3 separate regions of the Homo sapiens genome follow, and regions 1 and 2 are each linked to region 3. Evidence: promoter capture Hi-C in 16 types of primary human blood cells and fetal thymus (Javierre and others, 2016). All regions are on one chromosome and are shown on one strand. Each heading gives the region's core, a stretch centred on a gene start or on the middle of the fragment in contact. The rest is flanking DNA. Distances are from core to core; before and after follow the strand shown. Region 1 has its middle 14 kb from the start of CLDN11. Region 2 overlaps SKIL (SKI like proto-oncogene). Region 3 holds the start of LRRC31 (leucine rich repeat containing 31).

Region 1 (3,654 bases), core at 701-3,200, 540 kb after region 3:
GATAGTTTGTTGTTAGTTTATAGAAAGGATGCTGATTTTGGTATGTTCACTTTATATCCTACAGCTTTACTAAATTTATTTATTCTAGCAGTTTTTTGGTGGCATCTTTAGTGATATATATATGATTATGAATATATACTTATAATCATGTCATCTGCAAACAGGGATAATTTAATTTCTTCCTTTCCAGTTTGAATGCCTTTTATTTTTTCTTTTGCCTATTTGCTCTGGTTAGGACTTCCAGTACCATGCTGAATAGAAGTGGTGAGAGTGGGCATCCTTATCTTGTTCCTGATCATAGAAGAAAAGCTTTCAAGTTTTCATTGAGTATGTTAGCTATGGGCTTGTATATGGCCTTTGTTTTGTTCAGTTACATTATTTCTATACCTAATTTGTTAAGAGTTTTTTTAATCATGAAAATATGTTGAATTTTGTCAAATGTCTTTTTTGCATTTATTGAGATAATTATGTTTTTTGTCCTTCGTTCTGTTAACGTGACAAAAGCACATTTATTGATTTGTGTATGTCAAATCATCCTTACAACCCAGGGATAAATCCCACTTATTCATGGTGAATGATCCTTTCAATGTGTTGTTGAATTTGGTTTGCTAGTATTTTGTTGAGGATCTATTTATTTATTTATTTATTTATTAGACAGAGTCTCACTTTGTCACTTGGGCTGGAGTGTAGTGGCATGATCTCAGCTCACTGCAAGCTCTACCTCCCAGGTTCAAGCGAGTCTTATGCCTCAGCCTCCCGAGGAGCTGGGATAATAGGGGTGGATCACCACACCCGGCTAATTTTTTTTTTTTTTTTTTTTTTTTTTTTTTGAGACAGAGTCTTGCTCCATGGCCCAGGTTGGAGTGCAATGGCGTGATCTTGGCTCACTGCAACCGCTGCTTTCCGGGTTCAAGCAATTCTCCTGTCTCAGCCTCCTAAGTAGCTGGGATTACAGGCGCCTGCCACCACACCCAGATAATTTTTTTTTTTTTGTATTTTTAGTAGAGATGGGGTTTCGCCATGTTGGCCAGCCTGGTCTCAAACTCCTGACCTCAGGTGACCCACCTGCCTCAGCCTCCCAAAGTGCTGGGATTACAGACGTGAGCCACCGTGCCCGGCTAATTTTAGTATTTTTAGTAGAGATAGGGTTTCACCATGTTGGCCAGGCTGGTCTCGAACTCCTGGCCTCAAGTGATCTGCCCACCTTGGCATTCCAAAGTGCTGGGATTACAGGCATGAGTCACTGCACCCAGCCTTGTTGAGGATTTTTACATCAATGTTCATTAGAGATATTGGCCTGTGATTTTCTTTTCTTGTAGTGTCCTCTGCTTTTGGTATCAGGGTAATGAGGGTAATACTGGTCTCATACAATGAGTGTGGAAGTTTTCCTTCTTTAATTTTTTTTTTTGGAAGAGTTTGAGAAGAACTGATATTAGTTCTCTCTCTCTCCCTTTTTTTTTTTTTTTGAGACAGAGTTTTACTCTGTTGCCCAGGCTAGAGTGCAGTGGCATGATCTCGGCTCACTGCAAGCTCCACCTCCTGGGTTCAAGCAATTCTCCTGCCTCAGCCTCCCAAGTAGCTGGAATTACAAGCACCTGCCACCATACTGGCTAATTTTTGTATTTTTAGTAGAGATGGGGTTTCACCACGCTGGCCAGGCTGGTCTTGAACTCCTGACCTCAGGTGATCCCCCCACCTCGGCCTCCCAAAGTGTTGGGATTACAGGCATGAGCCACCCCGCCCGGCCTTATTAGTTCTTTATTTTTTATTTTTTGAGACAGGGTTTTTCTCTGTTGCCCAGGCTGGTGTATAATGGCACAATCATGGCTCATTGTAACCTCAAACTCCTGGGCTCAAGCAGTTCTCCCACTTCAGCCTCCTGAGTAGCTGGGACCACAGAAATGTGCCATCACAACTGTCTAATTTTTAAAATTTTTCTTGTAGAGACAAAGTCTTGCTATGTTTCCCTGGCTTGTCTCAAACTCCTGGCCTCAAGGAATCCTCCCATCTCAGCCTCCCAAAGTGCTGGAATTTCAAACATGAGCCACCATGCCTGACCTGTATTAGTTTTTTTAATATTGGGAAGAATTCAGCAGTGAAGCCATCAGGTCCTGGGCTTTTCTTTGGTGGGAGACTTTTTGTTTGTTTGTTTTTTAAAAGATTCAGTCTCTACTTGTTATTGGTATGTCAAATTTTCTTGCTTATTTCATCTTGGTAGGTTGCAGGTGTCTAGGAATTTATCCATTTCCTCTAGGTTATACAATTTGTTGGGTACTACTTAACTACTCAATACTTGCTCATAGTAGTCTTATATCATCCTTTGCGTTTATGTTATATCAATGGTAATATCTCTTTATTTTATTTCAGCTTTCTCTCTTTTCTTCATCTAAGGTTTTGTCAATTTTATCTTTTTAAAAAAAGAACTCTGAGTTTCACAGATATTTTGCATTGTTTTTCTAGTCTCTATTTCATTTATTTCTGGTCTTATCTTTATTATTTCCCTTCTTCTACTGACTTTGGACTTAGTTTTTTCTTTTTCTAGTTCCCTAAGGTGTAACATTAGGTTGATTTTTGGGGAATCTTTCCTTTTAATGTAGTAGTTTATTGCTATATACTTCCATTTCAGGACAGCTTTTGCTGTATTCCGTAAGTCTTGGTATATTTTATTTCCGTTTTCATTTGTCTCAAGATTTTTTAAAATTTTCCTTTTAATTTCTTCTTTGACCCATCAGTTGTTCAGGAGCATGTTGTTTAATTTCCACATATTCGAGAATTTTCCAAAATTCCTCCTATTATTTATTTCTAGTTCCATACCATTGTGGTCAGAAAAGATAGTTAATTTTTTTTTTTTTTTTGAGATGGAATCTTGCTCTGTTGCCTAGGCTGGAGTGCAGTGGTGCCATCTCGGCTCAGTACAACCTCCGCCTCCCAGGTTCAAGCAATTTTCCTGCCTCAGCCTCCTGAGTAGCTGGGACTACAGGTGTGTGCCACCACACCTGGCTAATTTTTGCATTTTTAGCAGGGGTGGGGTTTCACCATGTTGGCTAGGCTGGTCTAGAACTCTGACCTCAAATCATCGGCCTGCCTTGGCCTCCCAAAGTGCTGGGATTACAGGCATGAGCCACTGTGCCTAGCATGTATTTTTAGTAAAAATTGGGTTTCACCATGTTGGCTAGGCTGGTCTTGAACTCCTGAACTCAAGCAATCCACCTGCCTCTGCCTTCCAAAGTGCTGGGATTACAGACATGAGCCACCACACCTAGCCCACCTTACTACCCTAGGCCTTTTGATTGAGGAATTTAAATCCTTTACATTCAAGGTAATTATTGACAGGTAAAGACTTACTACTGCCATTTTGCACAAAAATTAGCCGGGTATGGTGGCGCGTGCCTGTAAACCCAGCTACTTAGGAGGCTGAGGCAGGAGAATCATTTGAACCTGGGAGGTGGAGGTTGCAGTGAGCTGAGATTGCGTCATTGCACTCCAGCCTGGGTGACAGAGTGAGACTCCATCTCAAAAAATAAAAAAATTAAAAAAAATAAATAATAAAATATATAACTCTCTTATTTTAAATAAAAACTTAAAAATGGTTAAGCTTAGTGAGGAAGGAATGTTGCAACATGGCATGATACGCTGAAAGCTGGGCCTCTTGTG
Region 2 (3,262 bases), core at 736-3,235, 520 kb after region 3:
TGTAATATGTAATATATGTCTTGTTTTGCTTTTACTTGTTTTCAGCTACTACTTATACATGTGTGATAAAGTGGTTGCCCCAAATGTGTCACTTACTTCTGCTGTATCCCAGTCTAAAGAGCTCACAAAGACAGAGGCAAGTAAGTCCATATCAAGACAGTCAGAGAAGGCTCACAGTAGTGGTAAACTTCAAAAAACAGTGTCTTATCCAGATGTCTCACTTGAGGAACAGGAGAAAATGGATTTAAAAACAAGTAGAGAATTATGTAGCCGTTTAGGTAAGTATTCAGAGATTATCTTTCTAAAATTAAATATCTAATGAACACATTTATTGAGCATTTTCAAACAGGCTTTTTGTTTGAGCTAAATTTTCAGATAATTGGAGCTTTTACCTTTAAAAATGCTACCCTTCAAAACTCTGGGTGATTTATTTTAATCTCAGTTGCTATACTTTTCTAGCGTGGTGATAGCTCAGGAGACTGAGATAGATACAGGCTACCTGGCCTCAGACTGCAAGTTATTTTTGTCCGAATTTTTTTCCTTTCCTACCTTTTATTTGCTGTCAGTCTTCAGGAGATCCTTGTTTTTCTTTCCTCCTTTTTTTTTCTTTTTTTGTGACAGAGTCTTTATCGCCTAGGCTGAAGTGCAGTGGTGAGATTGCGGTCACTGCAGCCTCAACCTTTGGGCTCAAGTGATCCTCCCACCTCACCCTCCCTAGTAGCTGGGACCAGAGGCGCACACCACTGTGCCTGGCTAATTAAAAAAAAAAATTTTTTTTTTTTTTTTTGTAGAGATGGTCTTGGTATGTTGCTCAAGCTGGTCTCGAACTCCTGGGCTCAAGTGATCCTCCTGCCTTGGCCTCTCAAAGTGTTGGGATTACAGTTGTGAGCCACCGCACCCAACCTTTATTTTTCTTTCTGATTTGCCATGAACTGAGACACCATTTAATAATAAGAAGTATTATGTAAGTAAGAGTAGTTAGGTATAGAACTCAAGGAAGCTTAGTTATGGAATAAAGCAAGGATTGAAAGCTCTGGGGGCCAGGCATATAGCATAAATGTGGAATATTGACTGGTCATTTAAAAGAAAAATAGCTGGTTACTTACCGTGCCTTTTAAAATACTGTGGATTAAATGAGACATGTCTGCAGATATTGCCTGTGTTACCATCCATATAGCAGCACAGCTTTGCTTAGTGATTAGGCAGTGTGACAGTTACTTTAGCTGCATTGGAACAGTTGGAGGGTCCTCTATTTATTTAAGTTTTTATAGAGAATTGAGATTCTTGGGGGTTTTCTTTTCTTTCTTTCTTTCTTTTTTTTCTTTTTTTTTTTTGAGGAGTTTCACTCTTGTTGCCCAGGCTGGAGTAAAATGGTGAGATCTCAGCTCACCGCAACCTCCACCTCCCAGATTCTCCTGCCTCAGCCTCCTGAGTAGCTGAGATTACAGGCATGCACCACCACACCCCGCTAATTTTGTATTTTTAGTAGAGACGGGTTTTCTCCATGTTGGTCAGGCTGGTCTTGAACTCCTGACCTCAGGTGATCCGCCTGCCTCGGCCTCCCAACCAAAGTGCTGGGATTCCAGGCGTGAGCCACCACGCCTGGCTGATTCTTGGGTGGGGGTTTTCTGGTTTTTTTGTTTGTTTGTTTGTTTGTTTGGAGACAGAGTTTCGTATTTGTTGCCCAGGCTAGAGTGCAACGGTGTGATCTCGGCTCACTGCAATCTCCGCCTCCCAGGTTCAAGTGATTCTCCTGCCTCAGCCTCCTGAGCAGCTGGGATTATAGGCATGCACCACCACGCCCGGCTAATTTTGTATTTTTAGTAGACACGGGGTTTTTCCATGTTGGTCAGTCTGGTCTCGAACTCCTGACCTCAGGTGATCCGCCTGCCTCGGCCTCCCAAAGTGCTGGGATTACAGGCGTGAGCCATCGCGCCCGGCCAGGGGTTTTCTATACATTTATTTTGAGGGTTTTTTGTTTCGTTTTTCTTTTTTAGAGACAGAGTCTCACTCTGTTGCTCTAGGCTGGTGGAGTACAGTGATGCATTCATAGCTCACCGCAGCTTCAAATTGCTGGGCTCATAGTCCTTGCACCTCAGCCTCCCTAGTAGCTAGGACTACAGGCATGTGCCACTGCGCCTGCCTCATTTTTTCATTTTTTTTGTAGAGACAGGGTCTCACTGTATTGCCCAGGCTGGCATTAAGCTCTTAGCCTCAAGTGATCCTCCTGCCTTGGCCTCCTAAAGCATTGGGATTACAGATGTGAGCCACCATGCCTGGCCAATTTTGAGATTTTTAAAACTCAGTTTTCTTCAGATTTAAATATGGTAAACAAAAATTAGTAATGACTATTATGCCATATTTACATTGTATTTTATTTCTTAAATTAATTCTAATGACTTCTAAAAAATTATTGAGATAATTTATATACCATAAAATTTACCCTTTTAAAGCCTACAATTCAGTGGTTTTTAATACATTCACAAAGTTGTGCAACCATCACAGCTAATTTAGTTCCATAATGTTTTCTTTTCTTTCTTTTTTTTTAAGATGGAGTTTCACTCTTGTCGCCCAGGCTAGAGTGCAGTGGGGTGATTTCGGCTCACTGCAAGCTCTGCCTCCCGGGTTCAAGCGATTCTCCTGCCTCAGCCTCCTGAGTAGCTGGGATTACAGGCGTGTGTCACCACGCCTGGCTAATTTTTTTGTATTATTAGTAAGAGACAGGGTTTTCGCCATGTTAGTCAGGCTGATCTTGAACTCCTGACCTTAGGTGATCCACCCGCCTCGGCCCATAATGTTTTCATCACTCCAAAAATTAACCCTATAATCCATTAGGAGTCACTCCCTGATTCTCCCTTTCTCGAAGCCTCTGGCAACCACTAATCTATTTTCTATCTTTATGGATTTGCTTATTCTGGACATTTCATATAAAAGGAATTGTACAATATGTGGCTTTTCATGTCTGGTCAAGAAGCTTATGCTTCTTTCATGAAAGATAATGTTTTCACAGTCCATGTTGTTGCATGTACCAGTACTTCTTTTTATGGCCTGATAAGATTCCATTATGTGAATATACCACATTTTTTTTATTCCTTCGTCAGTCGGACATTTGCATTGGGTCTACTTTTTGGCAATTAAGAATAATGCTGCTATAGGCCGGGCGCGGTGGCTCACGCCTGTAATCCCAGCACTTTGGGAGGCCGAGGCGGGCGGATCACGAGGTCAGGAGATCGAGACCATCCCGGCTAAAACGGTGAAACCC
Region 3 (3,635 bases), core at 191-2,690:
ATCTGCATTTGGTCCTTTTCATGGCTGTATTTCTAACACTTAGAGCAGGGGTTACTACATAGCAAGCACTCAATAAAGATTTATTGACTGCTGACTGACAGAACATAAATGCATGCATATGAAAAGAAAAGACTGAAAAGAATCTTAAAGAAATGATCGTTTGTGTTATAATGAAAGGAAATTCAGTATTTTCCCTACATTTTTCTGTAGTGTTATATTGCTTTTAACAATTTAAAAGTAAAATTATGAATCATTTAAAGCATGTAAGTAACATAATAAATGATTAGCACAGAGACTCATAGTTGAGTCTTTAGTCTCAAAAGTCTTAAAGTCTTTAGTTTAACCCATAAGATCACTTTAGAAGAAAACTCTAAAAAATAAAGAAACATAGAGGCTGGGAAGGGTGTGTGTGTTGTTGGTGGGGGAGGTGTGGATGGTTAATGGGTACAGAAAAAATAGAATATATAAGATCTACTGTTTGATAGCACAACAGGGTGACTATATTTATCCTTTGTTTACAAACAACCCGTTGTGCTCTTTTAGTTATTTTTAAATGTGCAATAATTTATTGCACATTTAAAAATAACTAAAAGAGGCCTGGTGTGATGGCTTACACCTGTAATCCCAGCAGTTTGGGAGGCCAAGGCAGGAAAATCACCTGAGGTCAGGAATTCGAGACCACCCTGGCCAATGCAGTGAAACCCCATCTCTACTAAAAACACAAAAATTAGCTGGGCATGGTGGTGCGCATCTGTAATCCCAGCTACTCGGGAGGCTGAGGCAGGAGAATCGCTTGAACCCGGGAGGCAGAGGTTACTATGAGCTGAGATCACGCCATTGCACTCCAGCCTGGGTGACAAGAGTGAAACTCTGTCTCAAAATAAATAAATAAATAAATAAAACTAAAGGTATAATGGGATTGTTTGTAACACAAAGGATAAATGCTTGAGGGGATGGATACCCCATTCTCCACAATATGATTATTAGGCATTGCATGCCTGTATTGAAACATCTCATATACCCCATAAATATATACACCTACTATGTACCCACAAAAATTAAAAATAAAAATATTTTAAATGTGGAAGTAAAAACAAAACAAATACAACAGCAAAAACACCAGCAGCCAGCAGCTTACCAGTCTCTGAGGTGGCTGTCTTCTGTATCCAGTCGCTGGGTTGGGAATCACTTGTTTTAAGGTCATTGTCCTCTTTTCTGCTTTCAGCATTGGAGCCCCTGAGAAATTTGTTGACAGTTGAAGTCTGGGGCTTAGTTTCTCCTTCTGAGGAAGTTTTCTTCCTTGTTTGACTCATGGTGAAGTTGATGGGGGTAGTTCCCAATAAGACATCTTCCTGTTGCTTTCTGTTTTCTAGGATTTCTAAGAAGAAAAGAAGATTCTGTCAAGCCTGTGTTCAATCAAAATATCCTCCCCTACATGACTGCCCCCCACTCCCTGCCGCACCACCTTTCTTTTTCTGTTTTTTTATTGCTGTTAATGTTTAACATGAAAATAAGAATGATGTAACCCAGGATCCAGAAGCCAATACAAACTCAAAGCAATTTGAGTTTTTAACTTTGCCCTATTTCATTGTGTGAGATACAAGTCATTAAGCATGACTTTGGCAAGCACATCAAGTGTGTCAACACATCTTAAATTACAGCTGTCAATTAGTTACCTGAAGACTTAATATGCCTTTAAAAGGGACTGGCCATTTGCAAAGCTGTCCCCAGAGGAGTTTGCCTTCAGCGACCTCTGCCTTCTGGTGACCCCCACCTCCTTCCTTTGCACATAAGCTCCTTTTTCTCTTTGCATATTCATATTTTCTCTACCCCCAACCCTGCACCACCACCCCACTGAAACATGTTGGCAGTAAAGAATTCATTCATTCCATAAATAGTTTTAAAGAATCTACTGTGGGCCAGTTAATGTTCTAAATGCAAAAGATTCAATGACGAACAAGAGACAGTTCTTGTCTTTGATGGGATCTTAACCTGGTGGGAAGATGGACCTGTATGCCATTGATTGAGTGGGACAAGAGCCAAGAGATGGGAGGTGGTCAGGGAACCCACAGTAAACTAAGCATGCCTTGGAGAACAGACTTGGAACAGTGAGTGACATTGCCTGGGTTTTGAAGGACTGCGAGTTAGCTTTTTAAGAGAGGGAAGAGTATCCCAGGCAGAAGAAAGGGTAAGCTCAAGAGCTCCCAGGCAGGAACGGCTGGAAGAGCCTAGCATTGGAGGTGGGGATGTGGGTCAGGGGGTGTGGAGGTTAGGGGTGAGGTCTGGTATGAATTGAAGCTAAAAAGGATTCGTAAAGGTCAATCTATTATCTCTCCTGAAATTTGCTTATATTTTATGGGAGGGCTAAGGACTTAAACTAAAGGGATACACAGAAGTGTTTTGTTTTGTTTTGACATAGAGATGGATTTTCACCATGTTGGCCAGGCTCGTCTTGAATTTCTGGCCTCAAGTGATCCGCCCACCTCGACCTCCCAAAGTGCTGGGCTTAAAGGTGTGAACCATCATGCCCAGCAGAAGTATTCTTGAAATTACAGTTTTCATAGTCTCCTCTCTAATAAAATAGCTCTTTCTGTAACATTATGTTCCAGAATGGTCCAAGAAACATTTTACACAGGGAATCCTAAAAATGGACCTTGCAGAGCCCACCTCCACTCGTGAGGGCTGGAATGTTCCATGCACTTGGAGCACTGCTTTGGAAGTCACAATTGGACATTCCATTTTTCTTTTAAAATCTTCCTTTCATATTAGAGCAGGGCCCAGCCCTGGTTTACCCAGCAACAGACAGCAGTGGAACTAAACAATTACTCCATGCACAGCAGCACAGCTGACTAGAGTCTCAGGGGGTTAGGTGGAAAAGAAGAAGGAAAGGGGCGCTAACTCATAAATCTAAACATGACCTGCAGCCCTGGCTGCCTCACCCTGATTCCACCATCACCCCAGGCCTTTCTCAATTTGCTACTCTTCTGGCCCCCCACCCAGGACACCTCCATGGTCATTTTCAGCCAATTTCACCATTTGGAGATTTAGACAGGGCTATTCTCTGGGGAGCTAGCTCAGTAAATGGTTTCACTTTTTTATCCTCCCCCCAAATGCACTGACTCCAACTCCCCAAGTCCTAAGAAAACAGTGCTGGAGGGTGCTCCAGGATGTGGTAATTTACCCAGGTGAAACCACACCCAGCTTCTGAGGCCCAGCCAGTTCTCTGTGAAGATCAGTACACTAAGGAACAGGGGAGCCAGGAAGCCAAGAAACACAAGAACCAAGGAACAGAAGAGGATGTGAAGGAGAGGAAAGGAACAGGAGAATAGAAAGCAACCAGGAGGCTAATAAGGCAACAAGAAAGGACCATGCCAGAGGAAGGAAGGCTTTTGAATGAAAAGGGGGAAGCATTTGCACATTTCTTCATGTATAGTAGTTAAGTGCTAGGTTACCATACTCATATTTAAAAATAATAATAATTTTTTCTTGAAAATATGTCTGGGAAATTCCTCTTTATATAAAAACTTTAATAAGCCCTCAGGCTTCCCAAACCAAGTCCATCTTTAAAATCTTAGCTTCAGTAAACCTTCCGCTTCCTCCTTATCCCTGAACTGGACTTTATAAAGGAAATCCCT

What was found. The method cuts DNA at HindIII sites, captures the fragments that hold promoters and counts their contacts. A CHiCAGO score of 5 or more calls a contact.
Region 1: a contact is called between a fragment that was not itself captured here and the fragment with the promoter of LRRC31 in region 3, in 1 of 17 cell types (neutrophils). The highest score is 6.9, in neutrophils.
Region 2: a contact is called between a fragment that was not itself captured here and the fragment with the promoter of LRRC31 in region 3, in 3 of 17 cell types (neutrophils, naive B cells and total B cells). The highest score is 6.7, in neutrophils.

Annotation. Positions count from the first base shown.
Region 1 is chr3:170,403,346-170,406,999 of GRCh38, forward strand. No RefSeq gene overlaps it. Among named protein-coding and RNA genes, the nearest start is that of CLDN11, 14 kb to the right of the region's middle. The HindIII fragment of the contact is 3,286 bases long and covers 308-3,593 here.
Region 2 is chr3:170,384,488-170,387,749 of GRCh38, forward strand. It overlaps SKIL (SKI like proto-oncogene), which reads left to right. Exons shown (of 7, transcript NM_005414.5): 4 at 46-278. Among named protein-coding and RNA genes, the nearest start is that of SKIL, 28 kb to the left of the region's middle. RefSeq lists a silencer at 30-230. The HindIII fragment of the contact is 1,974 bases long and covers 999-2,972 here.
Region 3 is chr3:169,868,495-169,872,129 of GRCh38, forward strand. LRRC31 (leucine rich repeat containing 31) reads right to left here and starts at 1,441. Exons shown (of 9, transcript NM_024727.4): 1 at 1,139-1,441. The coding sequence starts at 1,313. The HindIII fragment of the contact is 9,706 bases long and covers 1-3,635 here.